5 separate regions of the Homo sapiens genome follow, and all the other regions are linked to region 1. Evidence: promoter capture Hi-C in 16 types of primary human blood cells and fetal thymus (Javierre and others, 2016). All regions are on one chromosome and are shown on one strand. Each heading gives the region's core, a stretch centred on a gene start or on the middle of the fragment in contact. The rest is flanking DNA. Distances are from core to core; before and after follow the strand shown.

Region 1 (2,630 bases), core at 80-2,579:
TGAATGAAATCCTGGATTCTTACCTTTTCATATGATTCTTGTTTTATTTTGCTGTTATTATTAGCTTTCCATGTGGCAGGTATTAAAATCTTTATATTTCTGAAAAATACTCTTCTCTTGGTAGCATTAAATAGGTAAAATGAAGCTTCAGTTATCATTTCCTACAGCCAGACAAAAGAAAAACTTACTTTACCACTTGTAAATCCTGTATGTTTTGGTTTTCTGGTATGCTTAAACAGTAATAAAAGACAATGAAATATTTTGAAGAGACCCATTTCTTTTAGAGAAAGCCCTAGACTTTGGGAAAACATAGGAGCAAATTTTTAAAAAAACTTTAAATGATTATATGGAAGATTTTAGGACACTAATTATATGTCTGTGCTTGCCTTCATAGTTTTCCCAATTTTGAGAAAGGCTTTTAAGCTTTTGTGGAACAAATCCTTTTCATGTCACACCTGTGGGCACATTCAAGACCACACCTTATGATGCTACTGATTTCACTAAAGCAATACTAAATGGAGGCTCTTACATCATAGAGCTATGATCCTCCCTTGCCATATTAAAGTAAAAATAGTCAATTATGTTACAGCACATTCAAGTGAAAAGAAATAATTTTGCTTTTTGGCCCACCGTGCAGACTCTCACCCTTTCTGCCTGAGAATTCTCACCCTCAGGATGGAATCTAGCAATATGATTTTAACAAGCATGCTCATTATCATGCTTATTCATCAGTTAAATATTCAATCTTTGTTGCCACAATGGGTTGTTATTTTTCTAAGTTGCTACCCCAAAAACAGTCATGTAGGAAAACAAAAGAGCTGAAATTAGTAGCAACCAACAATAACAAAATAGAGGGCTAGATCAACACTCTGTGAGCTGAGACTACACAGAATTAGATGAACAAACTGGCTTAGTTAGCCATAATCATAACGTTGTGGCGCTATCTTTTAAAAATGCTGTTCTCTGTATTACTCAAATACAAACCAGGCAGGGTAGTTAGCTTCTAAATAAGGCTACAGGTCTGATCAAATGGGATGCTAGTATCAATTTCATAATTTCCACTCACCTTAATGTTTGAGATGAGGTTCTGATTCTCAGGTACCTGAGGATTAATTGCAATGAGCAATCCATTATACCCATTGTCTTGAAGCTGTACTCCAGCTCCCAGGAATGGGAGTTCTGAACTTAAGGCAACCAGGAGAGTCACAAACTTCAGGTTGCAAATAGGACCTGCAATGCTCCTTTGGGTCATGTTGTAGAGAAGCCTCCAGTTCACTCACACTGAGCCTGCTGCATACATTGTGTCAGGTTTTCAATATGGATGCAGATGGTTTCTTCCTGAACTTGCAAGGTTTTAGAACACAAGATGAAGGAGGTGTCTTCTTTGAAAAGTCTGGGGTGGATCCATCTGGGACCTGCCTCTACAAGTCCTTTTCCTCCAGGCAATGCTACACTTGCCTGTTCTGTGGCTGAGCTGCCTCCTGAATCATGGTTGGGCAAGAAACATTCTGCCCTTCATTCATTTTATAACTTTTCAGAAAGAAGAGGGAAATAAGACCAAAGGAGCTTAAAAGCAGGAAATATGGGCTGGAAATCAGTATATCTGGACTGTTCAATCCACTTGCAGTAGAAACACAGAAGTCTATAGTGATTTTCCTCTCCTCATTTTTCATAACCTCCTCCATCAGTTGGCACAAGTACTTTCTACTGCCCTCAAGTCATTTTTCATTTGTTGCAAGATTTCCTTGCCTGTTTATTTTGAAGATTTAGAAATCCATTCTGCAGCCCAGTCCCTACAGCCCTTGGGTCAGATAGTCTGGGCAAGCTCTCAGCTGATGGCTGGAGGTCAGATATCAGATATCCCCCAGAGAGGGCCAACTGCCAGGAACTTGGGTGCCTGTGCAGCCCTTTCCCTCTGGCCTTGCTACCTTTTCTCTCTGCCTCAGGAAGAAGAATAGATTTCTCCTTCAGCTCTCTCCTAAGGGCAAGGCCCTGCTTCAGTCAACCCTCCATTTCTCCAGGACCAAAAACAGGATCTAATATATAGTAACCATCGCAAATATTTTATGACTGATTCATAATACCTGATATTTACCTCATGCTTTAAAGTTTACAAATGAACTCATTTAAATATCAATACTCTGATGCAGGTATAATTTGTACTTTTCAAATGAAAATAATGAGTCTTGGAAATTCTGATTATGAAAATTAGCCAATGAGAGAAGAAACTAACATTTTTTGAGTGATGGATTTTATTATGCCTATTTTATGGGTGACAGAACTAATGTTCAAAAAAATCTAAGTAACTTGTTCAAGGTTGGGAGTATTATCATCGTACTAGAATGAACCAACTGACTCCAAATTCCACTGTTTTTCAATATATCATGTTCTCTCTTAGTTACTAAATTATCTTAGTAACCTCGTTTCTCCCTCTTCTTTGTGTTTAAGAATGCCGCACAGTGACATCTATTGTAAAACTAAAGAAAAAGTTTTATTCACAGCGTCAGAGGTCCACAGCAAGCAAAACCTGTGACTCTTCCCTGCTGTGGCCCCGTCTCGGAACATTTCTGGGGAGGGGAGTGTAGCATTTAGGAAACGGTCTGTCCCTGCTCTCAACAGGGATTTCACCA
Region 2 (2,630 bases), core at 76-2,575, 700 kb before region 1:
GGGCCAGGCTGGGAAGTTGGCCTGGCCTAGGATCTGGTCTCTGTATTCGTGTTATTGGTCACAGTCCCCAAGGGGGAGGCTTTGCGCTCTGATTCCTCTTGGTGAAATGTAGGGTAGAGTGTTTGGTCAACTTCAAAGCCCAGTGCAACTTCCTCAGCTCTTTGTCAGATTCTACCCAAGTCTGATCCAATCCTAGGGGGTGGAGGCGGGGAGGGGCGGTGCAGTATTCGACTTAGTTTACTCTTGGCAAAACAGATCTTCCTGAGTCTCAGGGAGGAAAACGAGCAGCTTAGACAGATGTAAACAGGCTCTGAGGCCCTTTGGACATCAAATAACACTAACAAAACAACGTTTAGATGAGTTAAGTGTAAATCAATCAGAAACATATGGACTACATTTAACTGAAAATACACAGGGGTTTACAAATTACAGGCACAGGGGCTTGGCAAAATGCAATTCAAGTTTTGCCAAACCTAAAATGTTTGGAGAAGATTAAAAGAAAGTAGTCTGACCCCAAATTCCTTCAACCCTGCCCATCTCTGACACTGATAATATCCCACATGACCATAAACATTTAAGGGCATGGATTTTAAGAGATTTATATGCTGAATAAATTTAACTACACAACGAGCTGAGGTTCTTTTCCAGAAGAATGTTCATAGAAAGCTGAAACTGCCAAGTGACTGTATTAAAAGGGAGAAAACATCTACCTTTTGAGTTGGGCCAAAGAGATACACCTACATGTTTTCACTTGCAACAGAGTGGGATATTCTAAGCTTAGATGCCCGTGATTGCAGATTCATGGAGCACAGGCTCTGCTTTTTCCTGGTGTGGGTAGTCTTTGCACAGTGAGTGGCAGGCAGCATCTTGCACCCATTTGCCGCATATGGGGACAACGCAGAGATATATTCACTAGTGTCACTGTTGTGTTGTGACCCTCCCACATGTGGCATTTCTAGGTCAAAGAAAAGTTGTCCCAGTGGAACTAAAGCACCCAAGATCCAACTGTTTGAGTTTTGAGATTCAAAAGTGAAGTCTGACTAAGATATAAAAGATTTGGTGTATCCACCCCACTTGCCACCCAAGATGAGATGGAGTCTCCAAAGGAGAGCAGAAGGAAAGAGAGGACTCCTCAGTGGGGTCCCTGAGAAAGAGCTGCATTACTGCTGCCCCCTGGAGGATGGAGGGGAATAAGAGAACAACAAAAGAGGTTGTGGGATGGAAGAGCAAAGACACCACTGTCTGTTTCCTGGGTGCCCAGCATGGACAGGAGCAGCAGAGTAGAAAGTGATTCCGGGTGTGCCCAGATCGAGAGGCCTGTGACAGCCCCATAGAATTCCCACAGCCCTAGAGTAGTTGTGTGGGGTATGGGGCAGAGGCATAGCAGAATTCCCTACAGGCCCTCAAAAGGGGGCACAGGAGTAGTTAAGAAAGAGTCAAATCTGCACAGACCTTGCAGTGGGGGGTGAGAGAGGGCAGCCACAAACCTGTGGGTATCAGTGATCAAGGGTGGGATGGGGTGATACAGACCTGGGAGGCTGGTGTGGATGGACAACCTGGGTCAGAGGGCCCCTCTGTGCATGCATGGACACACACACACACAGGCTGTTGTGATAGTAATAAGCCACCTACAATGGAGACACAACCCCCAGCGAGAGAAAGACTATCCAGCAGTAACTGAAATTGCCAATCAGCAAGCCAAATGGGGACTTGTAACGGATTCACTAAAACAAAACATAATGTTTCTGGCACACTTCAGCTGTTGAGATTCTTGCCTTCTCCTCATGTGGATAAGGTCACAAAGTTGGTCAGGTGGTGTGACTGTTAGATTGTTTTGGGTATTCCCTGAACTCTAAGAAGCAGACAAAGCTTCACCCCACTTCATTTCACCCTAAGGAAACTTGATCTGAGTCATCAGGGATGAGCTGAGGCTGTGAGAGGAGGTGGGAGTGGGTGCAGACTTCAGTTGAAGGTGCAAAGGGGTCATCAATGGAAGTGGCAAGAGGGCAACCCACCAGGGGCAGGTGAGGGAGACAAGTGTGTTGAACCCTCAGGGGTCAGGAGGCTGTCAAAGGCAGAGCAGTGTTCCATTGCTCCTCCAACACAAACCGTTTTCTAGGATATGCTCAGGCAGGCCAGCCAGCTTACCACATCCTCTTGCTCTGGAGGGACTAAGGGAAGGGCTGGGAGGCATAGAGGAGCTCCAAGATGGTTGGTCGGCTAGAACCAGGGCTCTGCATGGAGAGGGAGCTGCTGAAGCCAGAGGAGGGGCCTAGAGACACAGTAATTTTGAGGAAGGGAGGAACTTGGAATTGTTCATACTTGTGCCATTGGCTTTGTGGGGTAACCTACAAGTGGGAAGTTAACCAGAAGAAAGCAGTCATTGTCATTAGAGGAAATTCTACGTCTTCTCCTGTGTGGCACACAGGATGATTCAAGGGCCAGCCCACAATATTTCTGTTTTCCCCTGCATCTCGCCTGTTGGTTAGAATGTGGTTCTAGACACATGGGGCCTGTAGCAATTGAATATGAATTTGCATCCATGTTTACAAAAACAATCAGAGATTTTACACGGGCCTCCTCAGCATGAAATATGCAGTGAAGCTGCAATAACCCCTGCTACCACCCAC
Region 3 (2,630 bases), core at 131-2,630, 680 kb before region 1:
ATTTACATAGCGCTTTACAATTTTCAAAGTGCTTTCACATGCCATCTCATTTAATCCTCACAACAGCCCTGTGAGGTAGGTACAGCAGGTATTATTATCCTCATTTCAAGATGAGGAAATTGAGGCAAAGAGAGGTTAAGTGACTTGCCCAAGATCACACAGCTGTAAGTGCTAGAGCTAGGACCTGAAATCAAGTTTTTTGACTCCTTGTCCAGTACTCATTCCACTGTAATTACTGCCTCAAGTTATGAATAATGAACTGTGTATCAAAATTGAAAGCTTACTGAAGTTCATTTCAGTGATGTCTTAACAGTAAAGTTAAATGAGAAATACAAGAACAGTAGGTCTGATGGTTTTACTTGACATAAAATTGGTGCAAAACCACTTTTGTCTAATTACTTGTAACCTTTTGGTCCAAATACATAAAATATGCAATATTTACAGCATTTTCCTTGTTTTGTAAATGCAATGCTTTAAAACACATTATAAAGCACCTTAGTAAAAATAGTCTACAGGTAAAAGTACAGAAGAAGTAGGAAAATCCTACCCATACCACAGCTCACTAATGGAGTCATAATACGGAGTCACCGATATCTCAGTTTACAGCTTTACAAATAACCCATGGAGAAACAAATACTAAACTTACTTTTTTGATATTAATGTGTGAAAATCTTAACTAAAACTTCAGACAATCTCAATATTCTTTGAAGTATCTTCCCAGTATTAGATATTGAGGAGGCAGGAATGAGAAATACTGCTTTGATGCTTTATCTTTTTACCATATTAGTCATGATTTAAATTGATTTTTAACACTAATCACCATTTAAAAAATTAAAACCACCTACATAAATATGGGCAAATCCAACTACAGCAGAAACATTTCTTAGCAAATATGATTAAACATTCCAATAAATTTCATGAGACATGACTCACAAAAACAAAGTACACACTGCCAAACAGTTATTAACACAATTCAGTAGAGGTGTATAACCCAAACCCTCAGTGAAGGCAGAAGAGGCAAATGGACTCATCTTAATTCATGGTTAGTTGAAAAAATGCTTTATCAAAAACAAGAGTATCAGAACCTTTTCTGAAATTGTATTTAGCCTTTTGATTAGACCTGCCATAAGTTCATTTTAGGTGATGTATATTTTCTCCCAGGCAGGAGGTTATAACTTTCACCAACGTTTAGCCAGGAAAAATAAAAATGCCTGAAACTTAGAACACTGACAATGCCAGCCAGTATCTACTTCCTTGACGTTACTGTCTGTTTCCTAATTTGGCTCAATACAAATTGTCATATACACCTACTGTCAGCAATCCAGACTGTGGAGCTGAGAACAAAGGTGAAGACAGGGTCAAATTTTAGTTCAAGAATCCAATAGTCACACCTTATACTCAGTTCGACTTAGGGTAAATCTTTTCATAGAAAAAGTTTTGTGCGAGGATGTAGAGGTCTCCATCTTTTTCTCGAACGGCATGGGCTCTGATGAATTGGAACTGCTCTAGTGCAAATTCATAGAACTCATTCTCCATTTTCCAAATATCAGATTGCTGTAGTTTTGCAATGGTTTGTTTAGTGGGGAGTTTCTTCTCTGTGGTTTTCCTAAGATGAGATTTCTTTCCTACTTACAAAGGGGGAAAAAAAGGAAAGGTAAATAATTCTTGGAGAACACACAAAAGATCAATGCCTCTTTATTTGAAGAGGTGGTTAATATGACACATTAAGAACAGGTAACATAATTGTCTTATATAATTCAGGTAAAAACGGAGCCTTGATCAAACTAGAGCCATGATTCAGTCCTTTAGAATGTTAATCCTTAACCTAGTAAAGACTTAATGAAATGTCAAATAGTCAATGTAAGGATTGGCACACAGTAAAGTGTAGGCTGTCACCTCACACACTATATTCTCAAGTGCTTGGTGCTCTGAGACTAGTTTATTTTTGATAAAATACCTATTGTCAAACTGTATTCTATTTTCTCATAATCTGTATTCTCTAAAATTATGTGTTAGAAGCTAGGGCATATGCATCCTCAAGGAGAAGAGTTCCTATGACTGCATCTTATCAAGCAATAGCAAAAAACGAAACAAAACAAAAACACAATTAGCTTATCACTTTCAGACACATGATAATACGGCTGAGGCTGCTAAAACATGGCTTAGGCATACTTCAGTTCCCCTATCACACCTCTACTTCAAAATGGTAGTAGGCAGGACTTATACACAGGCCTAATGTTTGATATCTGGCATTATTGAATACCATACATTTCTATGGCTGGTTCTGTACTTTGTATCATTCCACTATTTCTACAGTGCCTTCTAATTTTCACCTAATTCACAGTTACTCAATTGAAAATAGTGAGCAGAAACCGACAAGATACCTGCCTTTCTGGAGCTATCTGTTGTGTTTCACTGAAGAAACTTCAAATCACATATTTACAAGTTGCAAACCAAAAAACCAAACCAAAGAAAGCTTTAAAAAGAAACCCTTCCTTTATATACCTGTGCGATAGAGTTCAGTAGCACCCCTGAAAAACCGGGGCAATGCTGCCTCCAATAACATGATAAAATCTTCAAGTTCTTCAGTAACTCCCACCAGAAAATATTCATTAATTAGGTTATACTTG
Region 4 (2,630 bases), core at 89-2,588, 660 kb before region 1:
ATACTAGCGGCAATATGGAGGAACCAAAATGGCAGCAATGAAAACTCATTCTCATTTCTAGGGACAACTACAAAGGTACATACCTGATACGTGCCTGAATAAAACTGTTATATCAAAAATAATTTTCAAATACCTCTCAAGACAGATGCTGACATGTGACACTGAGGTAGCTAGATCATAAAAAACTTAGCAGAGTCTGACAGAAAGTACAGCATTAAAAGTGTTCTTTTAGCTATTATTCATTATAAATGAAAATGTTTATTGCTGAAGAAGTGTTTTTGAAAGAGACTTCTAACATTTTAATTTTCTAAAGTTTGAAGAAAATCAAAATGGGCTAATAGATGCTATTAAAAAATAAATAGTGCACATTTAAAAGGGGAGGAATATTTAATATTTTTACTGTTTATAATAAAACTTCATGAACTGGTAATTACAGAAAAAAAGATTTCAGTGAACTCATTAAGGTCAAGAACTGCAACTTACTCAACTTTATATTTCCTGCATACTATGACATTTTGAAAATGTCCAACCTATATACAATTTTAAACTGGAAAATTTTCAAATTTATAATAATTTATATCTACATTATCTTAAAATTGTATCATTCACCAATTAAAAAGAAAACAAAACATAACCTAACATTAAAGGGAAAAATGGAAAGGAAGAAGAACTAGGAAATATACTTTAAAAAAATCAAAGAATAAGATTCAGACAAAAAGGAGCAAGATGGGATAGGAATGCAAAAATGTAAAAAAGATATTTTTGTTATTATTCTAAAGTTCAGTAAAAAACAAATGTATGTAATCAAAACATGGCTTGAGTAGACAAGCTTGCAAATATAATGTGTATTTCTTCGTGGTCGGGCTAAACTAGAAAGGAGCGTTCATTTTTTATTTCTCTATCTTATTTCCTAGGTTTCTTGGGGCTTACATTCGTTTTAATGTCTCTGATAAGGTAAGTTTAAAAAAACTATGTGTTAAATAAGTATTTTGCCAAATTCACCACTTTCTCCTGAAAGCAAGTATTTTACTGGACTCCACAAAGTACTATGCCAGTCAAGAATATTGTTTTGAAGAGTAAAGCACAATTGACCCTTGAACAACACGAGTCTGAACTGTGCAGGCCCATGCATACATAGATTTTTTTCAACCACACACAGATACAGTACTTGAGAGATGTGAAACCCGTGTACAAGGGGTGACTTTCAAATTCGTGGGTTTCACAGGGCCAACGGAGGGACTTGAGTATGCGATTTTTATATACTCAGGCAGTCCGAGAACCAATACCCTGGACATACCCCAGGAACGACTGTAATCTAAAAAATTGGTAAGGCGATGTTTCTTTCCTTTTCCTTCCCCATTTATGGAGCATATGGCTATTAAGCTAAAAGATATTTGAGGATACTAGTTACATCTACAACAGTTCTTGATTACATAGATACATCAAAATACATTTCACCTAGGCTGATTTTGTTTAGGTATTTAAAATCTTGGAAAAATCTATGAAAAATTTTCACAATACTTTTCCCTTCAAATAACATAAGACTCACTATGAAAATATTCAAACGCTTAAAAATTCATGTCAGCATTTAATAAATGAGATTAATCTCTTCAAAAAGCCTTATTTTTTCAACTACAAGAACCTCAGCATATATCAGAGCTTTGTTCTAAGTATAAGACTTTGCCAAAAGCAAAAGCACTCAATTTATAATTTTAATAATGAAAACCTAGACTATTAGAAACCAAGCTGTGTGTGGAAAGAATAAATCATTTAGGTGAAAGGGTAACAAACATTCAATTCAAGGATAATGCAGCCCTGAGGGAAAATATGCACATGAACGAAGCTTATGAAATTGGTTCAATGCCTATGCAAAGAAAAAAATAATTAGTTTATTTTAAAGCTGCCTATAAAATATTTTCAATATTGCAGTATGAATTATTTATAGAAAAACATACATCTAACTTTAGAGCTACAATTTGATTGAAAGATCTTGAGTACTATGAGAGGAACTAGAAATAGGAACATATCACTTTATGTATGTAATATTTGGGTGATTCTTTTTTAATTACATGATTTCCCAAAAAGTTAAGATTATCAGTTTGAATCAGTAATACTTCATTCTACTTTTTCTTTTCAAAATTAAGTAAAACTGAGAGTGGGATATCACTTTTATTTTAAATTTTATAAAAAATGCCTTTTAAAGTTGACCAATATATCAAGGTGTGTTACTCTGAAATCATAATAGCTAATTTAAAAACTGAATAAACATGTCTAAGCTAAATAATAAAAAAAATTTTTTTAGTGTTTTTGAAGTTAATGCAGAATCTTAGGGAAAACATTTGGATTTGAGGTTTACTACAATGGTACTATGTGTACTACCAAAAAAGTTCAAATGTATCCATAAGACTGTTATGTTTGGAATATTAAGTTTAATTAATTTTCTGATTAATAATGTGGCACAGACTGTACAGAAAGCCACATAGTACTTGAATACTGTGAGTAGGCATATAGTTTTCTGAACCCTTCTTGAGAGAACTATTAATATGACAGAGGCCGGGCACAGTGGCTCATGCCTATAATCCCAGCACTTTGGGAGGCTGAGGCAGGAGGATCACCTGAGTCCAGGAGTG
Region 5 (2,630 bases), core at 60-2,559, 640 kb before region 1:
CATTTTCTATTTTTCAAGTGTTTTTACTTTGCTTAAATATATAGGACAATTATTAATATAATGTTAGGCCTAAAACTACATAAAAAGATAAAAAATGTATGGAAAATTAAGAACAATTTTGTTAGTAATATTAAATCACATCTCAGTTGAACAGCAGTAACTATTATTGATGATAAATTACTATCTTTCTTCTGTGGCAATACTTAAAATCAATCAGTGTTTTCAATATGGTCATTTTCTTTATTTACTAAGTAAGTATTAGATAGTTATAATTCTTTTTTTTAGCAAAGATGCTCTACATCTAGTTAGTGCAGCCTCTTGTGAGGCTTTCTTAAATCACTGAAGAAAGTTAACTAGTTATGCCACATTTGCAGTGCACTTAGAATGTAGGCAGTATATTCAAAATACTTAGGATACATTTTGTCGTAATGTTTTCTTCATCTTTGAGTAATAAATTGCAGTTCACCCTTGAACAACATGGATTTGAACTGCATGAGTCCAATACGTGGATTCTTTTTCAATAAAATTTACACTGAGTGTGCCTGCTTCTCCTGCCTCCTACCTCCTTTATCTCTTCTGCCTCTGGCATCCATGAGACAGCAAGACTAGGCCCACCTCTTCCTCCTCAGCCTGCTCAGTGTGAAGATGATGAGGATGAAGATGTTTGTGATAATCTATTTCCCCTTAACAAATAGAAAACTTAACATATTTTCTCAGAGCCTGGCCTGGTGGCGTGCACCTGTAGTCCCAGCTACTGCTACTCAGGAGTTGAGGGAGGAGGATTGCTTAAGCCGAGGAGTTTGAGACAAGCCTGGGCAACCCAGCTAGACCCCCATCTCTTAAAAAAAAATTTTAAATAAAAAAATAAAAAATACATATTTTCTATTTCTTGTATGTTAAATAACATTTTCTTTTCTCTAGTTTACTTTATTGTAAGAATATAGTATATAGCGTTACAAGAATACAGCATGCAATATACAATATGTGTTAATCAACTGTTTATTGATTGGCCAGGCTTCTGGCCAACAGTAAGCTATTAATAGTTAAGTTTAAAGGTGTTGGGAAGTCCTTTGACAACCGGTGCAAGACAAAGATGCCCTCTCTCACCACTCCTATTCAACATAGTATTGGAAGTTCTGGCCAGGGCAATCAGGCAGGAGAAAGAAATAAAGGGTATTCAATTAGGAAAAGAGGAAGTCATATTGTCTCTGTTTGCAGATGACATGATTGTATATTTAGAAAACCCCATCGTCTCAGCCCAAAATCTCCTTAAGCTGATAAGCAACTTCAGCAAAGTCTCAGGATACAAAATCAATGTGCAAAAATCACAAGCATTCCTATACACCAATAATAGAGAGCCAAATCATGAGTGAACTCCCATTCACAATTGCTACAAAGAGAATAAAATACCTAGGAATCCAGCTTACAAGGGATGTGAAGGACCTCGTCAAGGAGAACTATAAACTTTGCTCAAGGTAATAAGAGAGGACACAAATAAATGGAAAAACACTCCATGCTCATGGATAGGAAGAATCAGTATCATGAAAATGGCCATACTGCCCAAGGTAATTTATAGATTCAATGCTATCCCCATCAAGCTACCACTGACTTTCTTCACAGAATTGGAAAAAACTACCTTAAATTTCATATGGAACCAAAAAAGACCCCGCATAGCCAAGACAATCCTAAACAAAAAGAACAAAGCTGGAGGCATCACGCTACCGACTTCAAACTATATTACAAGGCTACACTACCAAAACAGCATGGTACTGGTATCAAAACATAAATACAGACCAATGGAGCAGAACAGAGGCCTCAGAAATAACACCACACATCTAGAACCATCTGATCTTTGACAAACCTGACAAAAACAAGCAATGGGGAAAGGATTCCCTATTTAATAAGCGGTGTTGGGAAAACTGGCTAGCCATATACAGAGAACTGAAACTGGACCCCTTCCTTACACCTTACACAAAAATTAACTCAAGATGGATTAGAGACTTAAACTAAGACTTAAAACCATAAAAACCCTACAAGAAAACCTAGGCAACACCATTCAGGACATAGGCATGGGCAAAGACTTCATGACTAAAACACCAAAAGCAATGGCAACAAAAGCCAAAATTGACAAATGGGATCTAATTAAACTAAAGAGCTTCTGCACAGCCAAAGAAACTATCATCAGAGTGAACAGGCAACCTACAGAATGGGAGAAAATTTTTGCAATCTACCCATCTGACAAAGGGCTAATACCCAGAATCTACAAAGAACTTAAACAAATTTACAAGAAAAAAACAACCCCATCAAAAAGTGGGTGAAGGACATGAACAGACACTTCTCAAAAGAAGACATTTATGCAGCCAACAAATATATGAAAAAAAGCTCATCATCACTGGTAATTAGAGAAATGCAAATCAAAACCACAACAAGATACCATCTTACGCCAGTTAGAATGGCAATCATTAAAAAGTCAGGAAACAAGAGATGCTGGAGAGGACGTGGAGAAATAGGAACACTTTTACACTGTTGATGGGAGTGTAAATTAGTTCAACCATTGTGGAAAACAATGTGGCGATTCCTCAAGGATCTAGAACCAGAAATACCATTTGACCCAGCAATCCCATTACTGG

What was found. The method cuts DNA at HindIII sites, captures the fragments that hold promoters and counts their contacts. A CHiCAGO score of 5 or more calls a contact.
Region 2: a contact is called between a fragment that was not itself captured here and the fragment with the promoter of CLCA2 in region 1, in 1 of 17 cell types (non-activated CD4 T cells). The highest score is 5.4, in non-activated CD4 T cells.
Region 3: a fragment that was not itself captured here is called in contact with the fragment with the promoter of CLCA2 in region 1 in 1 of 17 cell types (neutrophils); the score reaches 10.9 in neutrophils.
Region 4: a fragment that was not itself captured here is called in contact with the fragment with the promoter of CLCA2 in region 1 in 4 of 17 cell types (erythroblasts, fetal thymus, total CD8 T cells and 1 more); the score reaches 6.1 in erythroblasts.
Region 5: a fragment that was not itself captured here is called in contact with the fragment with the promoter of CLCA2 in region 1 in 1 of 17 cell types (neutrophils); the score reaches 5.2 in neutrophils.

Annotation. Positions count from the first base shown.
Region 1 is chr1:86,422,870-86,425,499 of GRCh38, reverse strand. CLCA2 (chloride channel accessory 2) reads right to left here and starts at 1,329. Exons shown (of 14, transcript NM_006536.7): 1 at 1,067-1,329; 2 at 24-161. The coding sequence starts at 1,252. The HindIII fragment of the contact is 7,161 bases long and covers 426-2,630 here.
Region 2 is chr1:87,119,514-87,122,143 of GRCh38, reverse strand. No RefSeq gene overlaps it. Among named protein-coding and RNA genes, the nearest start is that of LINC01140, 8.9 kb to the left of the region's middle. The HindIII fragment of the contact is 1,093 bases long and covers 779-1,871 here.
Region 3 is chr1:87,103,465-87,106,094 of GRCh38, reverse strand. It overlaps HS2ST1 (heparan sulfate 2-O-sulfotransferase 1), which reads right to left. Exons shown (of 7, transcript NM_012262.4): 6 at 2,506-2,630; 7 at 1-1,625. The coding sequence ends at 1,399. Among named protein-coding and RNA genes, the nearest start is that of LINC01140, 25 kb to the left of the region's middle. The HindIII fragment of the contact is 2,197 bases long and covers 282-2,478 here.
Region 4 is chr1:87,084,866-87,087,495 of GRCh38, reverse strand. The region is part of intron 3 of HS2ST1 (heparan sulfate 2-O-sulfotransferase 1); the gene reads right to left. Among named protein-coding and RNA genes, the nearest start is that of LINC01140, 44 kb to the left of the region's middle. The HindIII fragment of the contact is 1,014 bases long and covers 832-1,845 here.
Region 5 is chr1:87,067,085-87,069,714 of GRCh38, reverse strand. The region is part of intron 1 of HS2ST1 (heparan sulfate 2-O-sulfotransferase 1); the gene reads right to left. Among named protein-coding and RNA genes, the nearest start is that of LINC01140, 61 kb to the left of the region's middle. The HindIII fragment of the contact is 8,519 bases long and covers 1-2,630 here.